Linked DNA regions of Homo sapiens: all the other regions are linked to region 3. The links are contacts of gene promoters, found by promoter capture Hi-C in blood cells and fetal thymus (Javierre and others, 2016). All regions are on one chromosome and are shown on one strand. The core of a region is centred on a gene start or on the middle of the fragment in contact, and the rest is flanking DNA. Distances in the headings are between cores, read along the strand shown. Region 1 holds the start of CYP39A1 (cytochrome P450 family 39 subfamily A member 1). Region 2 overlaps CYP39A1 (cytochrome P450 family 39 subfamily A member 1). Region 3 holds the start of ENPP5 (ectonucleotide pyrophosphatase/phosphodiesterase family member 5).

Region 1 (3,772 bases), core at 1,251-3,750, 480 kb before region 3:
TAGATGAAGCTGAACTCTATAATTTCGTGGGTGATGTTCACATGCAGATGAATGACTGACATAATGTTTGAGATACAGAAGATGTAATGGAGTTTATAATGTTGTCTTTTATATGCAAGGGTCATAAGCTCAATATCCTTTCAATTAAAGCATATATGGAATTATTTTTCCAGCACTAAATTATATGCATCGCCTACTCATGGCCTCCTTACAAGTACTAACTGTATTTTGGAAAAATTTTTTGGTTTTAAGTTTTAAATTAGATACAGACCTTTTACCTTAATACAGTTAAGCTAAACGGCCTACATAAGGAAGATAGAGCTCATAACCTTATACAGAAAACGTCCTGAATAATTAAAATAATAACATTCAGACAAGTTCATGAACATTACTTACATTATATAAGACTTTTCAATGACCACCACCTGACACAAAACCTTAGTATACCTTTTCCAAGAGAAAACAATGTGGGGAAGGGAAGTGAATATTAAATCTTACCACTGGTTTTTGGAAAAGTTAGTATCTTGCTGACAGTTTCCCTAGAACAGAAGTAGCTTGCATAGACTTCAAGCAATATTTTATTGACATATGAAACCTGAAAAATCTTAATAGATTTCTCCATATTACACAGATTATGTCTTTCAAAATAAGTTTTGTTTTCTCGCTGGTTTGTTAAATGATGCTTCAGGTTCCTGAAGTGGTTTGTACTTAAAACCATCCCACATTTTGATTCCCATCCATTCTCCACACACAATTCTCTCCATGAATTTTTAACGAGGAATAGTCCTGTATAAAAGCCATTGAGTCAGAGGGGGACACATCAATTAAAAATAAAACCTGGAAATATCATTCAGCAATCTGCTTTTAGATCTTTTTAAGCTGATGAATTTTATTTCAGTAAAAACAATGAAAAGTAAAAATTCTCCATCATTTTCGAAAGGAGAGACATTAAAAAATAGAGGGGCTAAAAGGCAAAAATGGAAGAGCACGAAACAACTGATCATGGCTGGCTATGCTAGAATTAAAAAATAAACTCTTAAAATAGGACCAACTAACATTTACAAATGATAACGCATCAGAACTGTTCTTTTTATTTTTTTGTAACAGGCAAGAAAATGTAAGGGTAATCTTAAAATACACAGTTAAGGCTTCACAGGAAACACATGAGTATACTACTCACAAAATCCTTGGAATAAACGCTACTTGCTCATTCAAGGGCATCATCATTCCACTCTAGATGGCCTCTTAAAGTTTTTTCTTACTCATGTAGGCAGATGTAACTGCTCTTCTATGCTTTTATGACACCTAATAATATCTTCATTATAACAAGTAGCACATTATAATTGTCTTTCTCTGTCTCCCCAGCAGCCTGTAAGAAGGTCAGAACTGGGTCTTTTCAAATATATATCCACAGTCCCTGGTATTGTAGGAATTATAAAAATGTCGCAACTAATGGGTGTCCTGCCTTGGGTTTAGCAATCATATATTATTGACTTCTCAGAATCCTGCAAGGTAAACAGTATAGATGAATTACACTCAAAGAGGTCAAGTAGTCGATGCTCTGTGAGTGGCAGGTTAATAACGGAAGTCCCACAAGGTAGGTCCACAACTTGGACCCACAAGATAATGACAGTGTGGCTGTGTAAGACTATAAACCACAGAGATGATCTCAGTAAGGATGGAAAACAGATTACGTTTTTAAAAAGGTCATCCTCATGAAAAGGAAAATGATTCCTACAGAGGAATGACAGCTCGCGAAGCTTCTTAAAGTACAACATTCAAGCACCACAGCACATGCCTAAGGGAAGCATTAGAAGAGATTAGAAGGAAAAGGCCGTGGAGACCTCAATCCCTCCTCCTCCCACCGCGGGCCTGGCCTCCACCGCCACCTCTGCCAGGCGGGCATGGAAGGGGCGACCTCTCCGATGCGCACTGCCGGGCGCGAAGCCGCCCGCGCACCCTCCCCCAGCGCGGCGCGTGCCACTGGCCCGGGAGGCCCAGGCGTGGGCAGCCGGGTACCTAGCTCGGCCACGGTAGCCGCGCAGCCGGACAGTAGGAATTTGCTCGCTCGGGGCCATCTCTGGGTCAGCGGCAAAAGCCTCTCCTCCTCCTCCGGGACGGACATTCAGCAGTAGCGCAAGACGATAACGCACTCCTTCTCGCCGCTGCGCTGCACCGCGCCGCGGCGGCCGCTTCCCTGCCAGGGCGGCCCCTTTTCAACCGGCGAGTGGCCGGGTGAGGACCATTTCCCTCGTTCGGCTCGGCCGGGTGGACCCGCAACCTTCCTAGCAGTCCCAGCTGGAGTGGTCCAGCTGCCCCTTACACCCCAGAATAGAAAAACACAGCGGAGCCCAGGAGGTTACTGGGCAATGTAGTCCGCCGGGCTCCGCTACGTCTCTGATTGGCCGGCCGCGGGTCCCTCTGCGGCTCCGCCCCCGGCCTCCATGGCAACGCGGCTGGTTCTCGCCCGTCAGTCCTAGCCCGGCCCTGCCCCTCCTTGCATTTTTTCCGCGCTGGCTGAGATTCAAAGAGAAGTGGAGGTGGGAGGGAGCGACAATGGAAAAATCACCTGAAAACTGGGACAGAGGAAGGAAGCTACAGTTACGAAGGAGAGCTGCAAAAGTTGCAGCAGAAAGGTTGGGAGTCCCGACAGGTTCCGTAGCCCACAGAAAAGAAGCAAGGGACGGCAGGACTGTTTCACACTTTTCTGCTTCTGGAAGGTGCTGGACAAAAACATGGAACTAATTTCCCCAACAGTGATTATAATCCTGGGTTGCCTTGCTCTGTTCTTACTCCTTCAGCGGAAGAATTTGCGTAGACCCCCGTGCATCAAGGGCTGGATTCCTTGGATTGGAGTTGGATTTGAGTTTGGGAAAGCCCCTCTAGAATTTATAGAGAAAGCAAGAATCAAGGTATGTGGTCGTGGCAGACGGGGTCTCCAGAGGAGACAATGCTTTCTTTTTTAAACTTTCTTTCATTGACTCTTAAGTGCAGGGCTAGAACACGGGGAACATACCTGCTTGCCTCAACTAAAGGATCTAGTCATTTCTGAATTCCTCTACTAACAATTAACAACAATATCCTGTGCAAAATTTTGCGAAAGAAATGAAATACAATTGCAGCGTGCATCGACATTTTTGGAAGTAGAGATTAACTTTTCGTATTTTTACTTCATCGAAGTTAAGTTCCAAATGTGTATGTGTTAAGTAAATGTTTTCAGTAATTGGGAAAGATAAAGTGTAATCCAATTTAAGTTTGTGAAAATGAGTAATTCGTATCCAAATTGGAGTTAACACCAAAGTATTGTACAAATTGCTTGCACAGTTGGTCCGTACACAATAAACAGGCTCTGTATTTTTAGCTGACGTTGTTATTTGATGATGATGTACTCCATTTTCACTACGGCCTGAAGAGACTAGTAATCCTCCTTGTAGTAGATGTTTTTGTCTTGAAAGTATCTTTTAAATGTCTGAGCACTTTAAGGAACAGACCTTTATTAATGTCTTTTAAGTTTTATTCAATTTCCAGTCACAAATATTTTATGGTATTTGATTGTCTAATAAATTTGTATGATATTATAATTATTCTTATGAATTATAATACTTTCTGTGGTGACCCATTTTCCATCTGGTTAGCCCAATTTGTAGAATGAATTTATACGTAGTAGCATTATTTTACCACTGATCATTTGCCTTCAAAATCTCTGAGATTCCAATTTAGTAAAAAACATATAGAAAATTAAAGAGAACTAAGATGAAAATAAAAATAACCC
Region 2 (3,707 bases), core at 758-3,257, 450 kb before region 3:
AATATTTTGTGTTACTCATTAGTAAAAATAACAACTTTTCTCATTTTTAGTGAAGATAGATGTTTAATCTATTTAAATTATATAGTTAAATTATAGTGACAAAATAAAAATTTAAATCTGGCTTCTTGGAGATATATTACATATCTCTTATTAATAATATCTAGTTGTTTTCAAAATATGCTTTCTACTAATGTGCTCTTAAGGTTAATTTAAACATCATCCTTTTTAAAAAATATATGTATGGCTAATACTAAATATGCTTTTGTTCACCTTCAAAGAAGTTCATATTTTTGATATATGTTTTTCTTTTTAAGGTTGCATTTTGGACACTTGCATACGTCCTTTCTCATCCTGATATCCACAAGGCCATTATGGAAGGCATATCTTCTGTGTTTGGCAAAGCAGGTACTAAACCTTATTATATAGGAAGACACAGCTAATAATGCATGTTTGTCACACATTATTGGCAAAGCTAAATACCTATAATTTTATAAAAATTCAACATAATCCAAAATTCAACATAATTTGTTATATATCAGGATATAAATTGATCAGGTAGAATCCTAGAGTTTAATTACTGTCAAGCATATTTTTGTGCAACTCCTTCATTTTCCAAATGATGAAATCAGTGCTATAGAGATTGTGATTTGCCTAATTTCCTTACTTAAATATATATACACCTGTTTGTTCTTCTAATGTCTTGGATCCTCACCTCAATTGAATGAATGTCCACAGTTTTCAAGTTCAGGATTTTTCAGATTTTATAAAAGTAATAAGGGTATATTCCATATATTACATAAGAGCCCTAATAGGACTGTAGAGGTCAGGTAAGGCTTGCTACCAAAGGATTATTAAAAGACAACAAACAAAAAACAAGTAAACAAAAAGAAATAAAAAAACCCTTATGGTTGTTAGAAATTTGAGGATTTAGGAGCTGCAAATAGGGATTGTTGCCTTGAACTCTTTAGTTCAGATGTCAGCTGTTTATTTATCATCTCTTTTAAAAAGCAAATACAAGCTTGAATAGAGAGTACTCAACTACTTGTTTATTCAGCATAATTTGACCAATCTGGGGAGTTGACTTTTTTAAACTTCTTAATATGTCGTATTATGTATCCTGATATAAAAAGAATAAGAAATGATAGGGTTTTCTTGGAAGAAAACAATATAATATTAGGGCAAAAGGTATGATGCCAGTTAATGGTTTTCCCTCTCCCTTCCATGATTACTGAAAATATTTTATTTAAAGTTTTTTTTTTTGGATTGCTTCTTATGGAGTTAAACCAAAAAGTAAACTGGCTTGGCAACCATGAATATCTAAGTAATATTGTCTGAGCCTTGAGTATGCGTCAGCAGATGCTGGACCTTATAGAAATGGTGAGCATCATTATCATTGAATGCCAACAATGCTAACAGGTTAGATTCTGGAAAGACACTGGTGAATATAAGAGAAGACAACTGGCCTTTGTGCAGCTTGCATCTACAAAACAAATAGAAAGGCACATGCCCACATGTCTACAAATGGAAAAAGGCAATGCACTCTTGATTGTCACATATTCTCCTTTATCATTTCCTTACTAGAGTCTTTTCCTGACTTAGGGTACTCCAAATTTGTGGCTTTAGGAAATAAAAGAGTAGAGAGGGGATGATGGGGATAACGTGGGGGGTCCTCTCTGACCCAAAGGCCACAACAGAAGTGTAACATTAATCTAAATTTCTACAAGGCTTGATTCTAGAACTCTTGAACCCAGTTCTAGTGGAGAAAGATTAAAACCTTTTTGCTTTTTCTATGTTATTGTTTATTTTTAAAACCCATTGTTCTCTTCTGACACAAAAAATGCTCCTTCGAATAGTACTACCACTGCAACAGCTACATTATATGGATGCTTTCAGTCTATAAGACACTACTGCAGAATTGAAAACTATTTATGAAAGACATCAAACTTTTTTTTTAACCATACTTATACAGAAGCTATTCAATAATCCATACATAAGATCTAGTAGCAGCTCAGGAATTTAAATGTTGTGAGAGGAGTCCACAGATCTTTGGAAGCTGATATCAAGGAAGATATCCATGTGTCCATACAAAGGATTCTGTCAAGGAAGGAACATTTAAGTACATTCGATTAGTCAGGATTCTCCAGAGAAATGGAACCAATTAGGATGTAAATAGATACATAGATAAAGAGAGAGAGAAAACTCAAAAGACATTTATTATAAAAAATTGGCTGACCTGACTATGGAGGCTGAGGAGTCCCATGATGTGCTGTTGATGCAGGCTCTCAGTGGATTGGATGGTGCACACTTACATTAGGGAGGGAAGCCTACTTTACTGAGCCCACGAATTCAAATACTCATCTGTCATCCAGAAACACCCTCACAGACACACCCAGAATAATGGTTAAACTGAATACCCCATGGCCAGTCAAGTTAACATATAGAATTAACCATCATCTAGGCATCATCTAATCTGTTGAGTTTTGTTTCTCTGGAGAACCCTGAGTAAATTTACCCACCCACATATAGGAGGGCAGTCTGCCCTACTCAGTCTACTGATTGAAATGCTAATATCAACTAGTAATACCCTCACAGACACACCCAGAAATAATGTTTAGTCAAATATCTGGGCACCCCCGATCCAGTCAAGTTACATGTACAAATTATCATCACAGGCATGGAACAGGAATCTGACTCAGCACAGCAGTTTTTCTGTTCTATGCTCTTGTCTCCCGCAAGATCACCATTTCCTTCTTGGGAAAGTCTTTTATGAATTTCCAATGCTGTATCTCTGTGGCTTCAACACTCACTTCTAGGCACTTTGCCCAACTTTCTTATAAAACAAATCTCAGGGTAAAAACTACTATTGAATACTTGCGAAAGGAAAGGGTCAGACTCATACCACTTTTCTAAAGGCAGTTAGTTCTTGAACTATCTTGATAGCTGCCTTTCAGCCTACTCTTGTGTTCTCTATTTGTTTACTTTAAAATGAAAGCTTTTTGGGGCTCCTTTGTGAAGATGCTTGCTTAGCCCCAATTATTTTGGGTGGTGCTTTTCATTATTCTACTTCCTCTAACTAATCCTGTACACCTTCTATCTAAGTCTTTATTATCTAAGTCTTTATTATCTTCCTAAGTCTTCATTATCTGCTTCTTCCTTTTCTTGTTTTACAGCTGTGTTTTTATTTTTTAATTGCACACTTTTTAATTTACTTTTTAGCAACAGGGTCTCACTTTGTCACCTGGAGTACAGTGGAATGATCATAGCTCACTACAGCCTCGAGCTCCTGGGCTCAAGTGATCCTCCTGCCACAGCCTCCTGAGTAGCTAGGACCACAAGTGTGTGCCAGCATATTGGGCTTCATTTTTTTTAATGGGACATTGGGGCAGAGGAAGGTAGAAGTGCGTTCTCAGGTTGTCATCTTGAGCTATAAGTTTGTGTGCATGTAACATGCATCAACTTATAAATAAAATTATATATATATAATCATAGATAATTAACATACCATAAAATTTATCCTTTCAAAGTGTGAAATGTAGTAGTTTTTAGTATATTTATAAGATTGCAACCATCAACACTGTCTAGTCCCAGAACATTTTTATCACCTTCAAAATAAATCCCATACCCATTAGGAGTCACTTTCTGTTTCCTTCTATTTCTAGCTTCTGACGACCATTAATTTACTTATTGTCCTGACACATTTGCCTTTT
Region 3 (4,088 bases), core at 1,368-3,867:
TTGGACTGAACTTCTGCTAATGAGTCAAGATTAGTGAAGACCACTGTTTATCATGAATTAAGAGCAGTGCAGAAGCAGAATCCCAGTGGTTCCTATCTATGGCCATTGAATATGTGAGACCCACATTTTGCAGAATGTTCTACAAAGGATTAAAAGATGAACTTTCTTTTAGTTTAGTCATTTGTGGTATAATGTACTGGAATGCACCTTTAAAATTTTTTAATTGTAAAATTATGTGTTTATTTTTCCTATCATGAAGTCTAGTTCTGAAAAACAAGACTTCTGTGGTAGAGCCAGTTCTGGTTGTTTCTTAAAGAACAGATCCCTTTTCAGTTTTAGCACAAAGCTCTTCCAGCCCCTGACGAAGAAAATTGTCCCTCTCTCAACCTGTATTAGACTTCCTTGGGGAGGCAGAGGGATCTCCCTCCCCACCTGACCCCAAAACCTTTGAAAGAAAGAAGTTGGTTATTCTGTTACACTATTATTCAATTAGAATTCCACTAATTTAATAACAGAGAATAAAAGAATAGTTACAGTCAATAGCAGGTTGTGGTTTCTGCTGCTAAAACTTTCTGAAAACCTATTGCAAATAGACAGATACTGAGGCAACAATAAGACAGGAGGGCAGGTGCAGATGTGGGAGCAGGAATCTCATGTTTTACATTCATTCCTCTATACTATGTAAACCAGACTTTCTCCCCATGAACAACATAAGGTAATAGCAAGCCTATCAGGTGAACATTAGATATCATTATATGGACTTCTGGGAGGAATCTGGCAGTCTTATGAGCACTTTTCTGTGTTGTGCACTGTGGTTACCAGCTGTACCATGCCTATTTCACAGGAATAGCTGGTGAATATAATCATAACTTCCATAAAATTTGCAGAGCAAAGCAGGTTGTCATCCAAACAGAGTCCAACAATGTTCAGTGATCCGAACAAAAGTCAGGCCCATTTTCACCACTCCTGCTCTCTGATAAGCGTACATTGTCCTTTGAGTGTTTTGGGAGAGCACAGAGTTGACCTATTCTGGGGGACAAGGACTTACAAGATTGGACCACTCTGTTCCAAGTTTGGGCAATTTCAAAGGACAGGGCTTTGGGGAATTGGAACAACTTGTTCAACTTCATTGTGTTTGGGTCTCACTAAACATAGAAACCAGCCTCCCTCTTAATCCCCATCCCACGTGTTGAAAACCATAAACTCAAGTTACCACGAATAAAAGGCCATGGAAGAGTGCCCAGATGCCCTTCGGGATGGGATGACCCAGTTAGGAGGTAACAATGTTTGGGGTTGAGATTGTCCCTCTATTAGAAGCAGACAGAGAAAAAGCTATGACCAAAATGTTTGCATGGCTTAATTAAATATCAACAGATATCTCTATTCACTTTAAAGCTCCAGCACACCAGACAAGGGATCCGAGCTCCGGGCAGGAGCCAAAACCACCATTGCAGATATGCTCCCAGTTTTACCAGCTAATTAGATGTTAAACTTACATTGTAACAATCAACCTGATATTATTGCCTACTGCAGATAGAACTAGAATTCTAATTAGGTCAGAATTCTAGCTGGGATTGTGTAGATGGACAAATTCTTTCAGGGTAGTTTGATATCACTGCTATAATTTATGGTAAAGACAGTTGGGATCATACTGGCAAACTAAGTACCTGCCTACACTCCCTCAGGCCTAAAAATGCCATTGATTATCCCAAAAAAACTGAGAAAATAATCCACTACAGTACGGAAAAAGACAAAATAGGGGCACTAACACACAAGAAGCACTGAAGGCTTTCTGAAAGAGTAATCAGGCCTGATGTTTGTAGTTTTAATGTTTACTTTGCAAACAAAGGTAGAAACAGAGTCTGGAGCTCGGATGCCACCACCAGAGAGGGTGGCTGTTCAGCCTCTCTCCTGTGCAAATTAACCTAATTCTGAACCTGTCTTGGTTTAATTCGCACAATTTCAGGTGCCATGCTAGGTACACCACAAATATACCTCAGGGACCTCAATTGCAAAAACCTGGACTGCAAACGTTGGGGCTGCAGAGTTGACTAGGTTAATAAATTCTTTCTGAGGTAAAGCAGATAACACCCACTAATAAAAAGAATGAAACTTCATCGTCCCATTGGCATCCTCGGGTGTGCAGGTGTTCCTCAGAGCAAAGCCCATGGTGTGCCCCATCGCCAATTCGTGACAAGGCAGGGGGCGGGGGGCGGGGGAAGGAAAAAAGCCTGGGATAAGAAATCAGAGAATACAAGTCGCTTTTAAACAAAAAACAGTGACTGTTAGAGTACACCCACCATTGGGGTAACACGCAATAATCTCTCAGCATCACTGACTCCAGCACAGCTGGTCCCCTGGAAAAGGCACGTTGCCGGAAGGTTTTGTGTGTGACCAAGCAATTGGCCATCCCACGCCTTCGCCCTACCAGATGGGTCCCTGCCCCCGGGAGTCCCCTCCCCCTCCACCCTCCAAACCCAGGCAGCGCCCGCCCCTGCCCCCGCTGATTGACAGGCCGTGCAGCTACTCCTGGGAGCCTGGCTTTCGGGGGCAACCCAGGCAGAAGTGACTATCTCTGCAGCAGCCAATAGAAGCCAGGAGGCGGGGCGGGGAAGCGGCGCGGTCAGGTGCTCCGCTCCAGAGTTGAGCGCAGGTGAGCTCCTGCGCGTTCCGGGGGCGTTCCTCCAGTCACCCTCCCGCCGTTACCCGCGGCGCGCCCGAGGGAGTCTCCTCCAGACCCTCCCTCCCGTTGCTCCAAACTAATACGGACTGAACGGATCGCTGCGAGGGTGAGTCCAGGGGCGTGGGTGGCTTCCCTCCCGGGAACCCACACTGCTCCTCTGGGTCCCTAAAGCAACGTCCCCTCCTTGCCACTGCACATCTAAGAAGCCCAGGCCTCGGTGGGCGGGATGACTGGGAATTGGGAACATAACCTACGCCGCGACCATTCTGGGTGGCTAGGATGGAATCCTGGTGGAGAAGATGGACACCCCCGCCCTTGACGTCTACCCGAGCTACACAAACCTACTCCTTCTGCACTTTCCCTCTTCCGTTTAATCGGTGCCCCGTCCTTCCTGCTCTCCAAGTCTGTTTGTGGAGGAAGGGTTGGAGGGGAGAAAGAACTGGAAAGTACTCAATGAAATGTGGAGCCAGATCCAGGGATTCCACTGTTTTGTGCAGCATTTTGTGCACGAAAAAAAAAAAAATTCTGATTGTTTTCATTCCCCACCCCCCACCTCTGTTTATTGCTCTGTGTCATGGATGTGATGTTGAGTCTTCTTGCCAAACATTCCTAAGCTTTAGACAACACTTAATCTTTGCTTACTTTTGTTGGTCCCAAGAAAGCAGTTTTCTCCTGCTTACACATGTGCCGAATTAATTTGCTAAGATAGATGAAAATGAGGTGTTCCATGTAGTTTATTTCCTCTGCTTTTAGCCTTAAATTACATTTGGTTGATACTAGCCTTCCTTGTTTTAAAAAGGTGGGAGAGAAAATTAGGGGGAGAAAGGACAGAGAGAGCAACTACCATCCATAGCCAGATAGGTGAGTAAATATATTTGCAGTAACCTATTTGCTATTCCTTGCTGCAACTGTGTTTAATGTTCCTTCCAGAATCAGAGAGAGTATTGCCATCCAAGAAATCGTTTTTAAATATGACATTTGAGCTATCATCTTGAGACCAATACCTAAAACAATTTCAGTTTAAGAAATGTCTAGGTATGGTGAAAACACAGTTTAAAACCAGCAAAACAGAATTTATTGCCCTCAGCGAATACCCACAATGTACATATACCTTGTATTTCTGAAAGCAAAGCAAGCATGCCAAGTAGTTTTTATTTACCTGTACCTATAATACAGCAAGGTGAAACAGGATATATTTTTGAAGTTTAAAAATGTCTTCAGGCCGGCTGCGGTGGCTCATGCCTGTAATCCCAGCACTTTGGGGAGCCGAGAAGGGTGAATCACCTGAGGTCAGCAGTTTTGAGACCAGGCTGGCCAACATGGCGAAACCCTGTCTCTACTGAAAATACAAAAATTAGCTGGGTGTGGTGGCGGGCGCCTGTAGTCCCAGCTACTTGGGAGACTG

The links. Contacts are between HindIII fragments. The CHiCAGO score rates a contact against its expected background, and 5 or more counts as called.
Region 1: a contact is called between the fragment with the promoter of CYP39A1 here and the fragment with the promoter of ENPP5 in region 3, in 3 of 17 cell types (naive B cells, non-activated CD4 T cells and total B cells). The highest score is 5.9, in naive B cells.
Region 2: a fragment that was not itself captured here is called in contact with the fragment with the promoter of ENPP5 in region 3 in 1 of 17 cell types (naive B cells); the score reaches 5.7 in naive B cells.

The regions. Positions count from the first base shown.
Region 1 is chr6:46,651,546-46,655,317 of GRCh38, reverse strand. CYP39A1 (cytochrome P450 family 39 subfamily A member 1) reads left to right here and starts at 2,500. Exons shown (of 12, transcript NM_016593.5): 1 at 2,500-2,912. The coding sequence starts at 2,736. SLC25A27 (solute carrier family 25 member 27) reads right to left here and starts at 2,343. Exons shown (of 9, transcript NM_004277.5): 1 at 2,020-2,343. The coding sequence starts at 2,125. RefSeq lists silencers at 1,906-2,005, 2,436-2,525 and enhancers at 2,186-2,315, 2,546-2,595. The HindIII fragment of the contact is 2,676 bases long and covers 1,763-3,772 here.
Region 2 is chr6:46,622,116-46,625,822 of GRCh38, reverse strand. CYP39A1 (cytochrome P450 family 39 subfamily A member 1) reads left to right here. Exons shown (of 12, transcript NM_016593.5): 7 at 315-405. Among named protein-coding and RNA genes, the nearest start is that of CYP39A1, 29 kb to the left of the region's middle. The HindIII fragment of the contact is 1,974 bases long and covers 1,021-2,994 here.
Region 3 is chr6:46,169,509-46,173,596 of GRCh38, reverse strand. ENPP5 (ectonucleotide pyrophosphatase/phosphodiesterase family member 5) reads left to right here and starts at 2,617. Exons shown (of 5, transcript NM_001290072.2): 1 at 2,617-2,789; 2 at 3,483-3,544. RefSeq lists a silencer at 2,386-2,445. The HindIII fragment of the contact is 3,442 bases long and covers 1-3,299 here.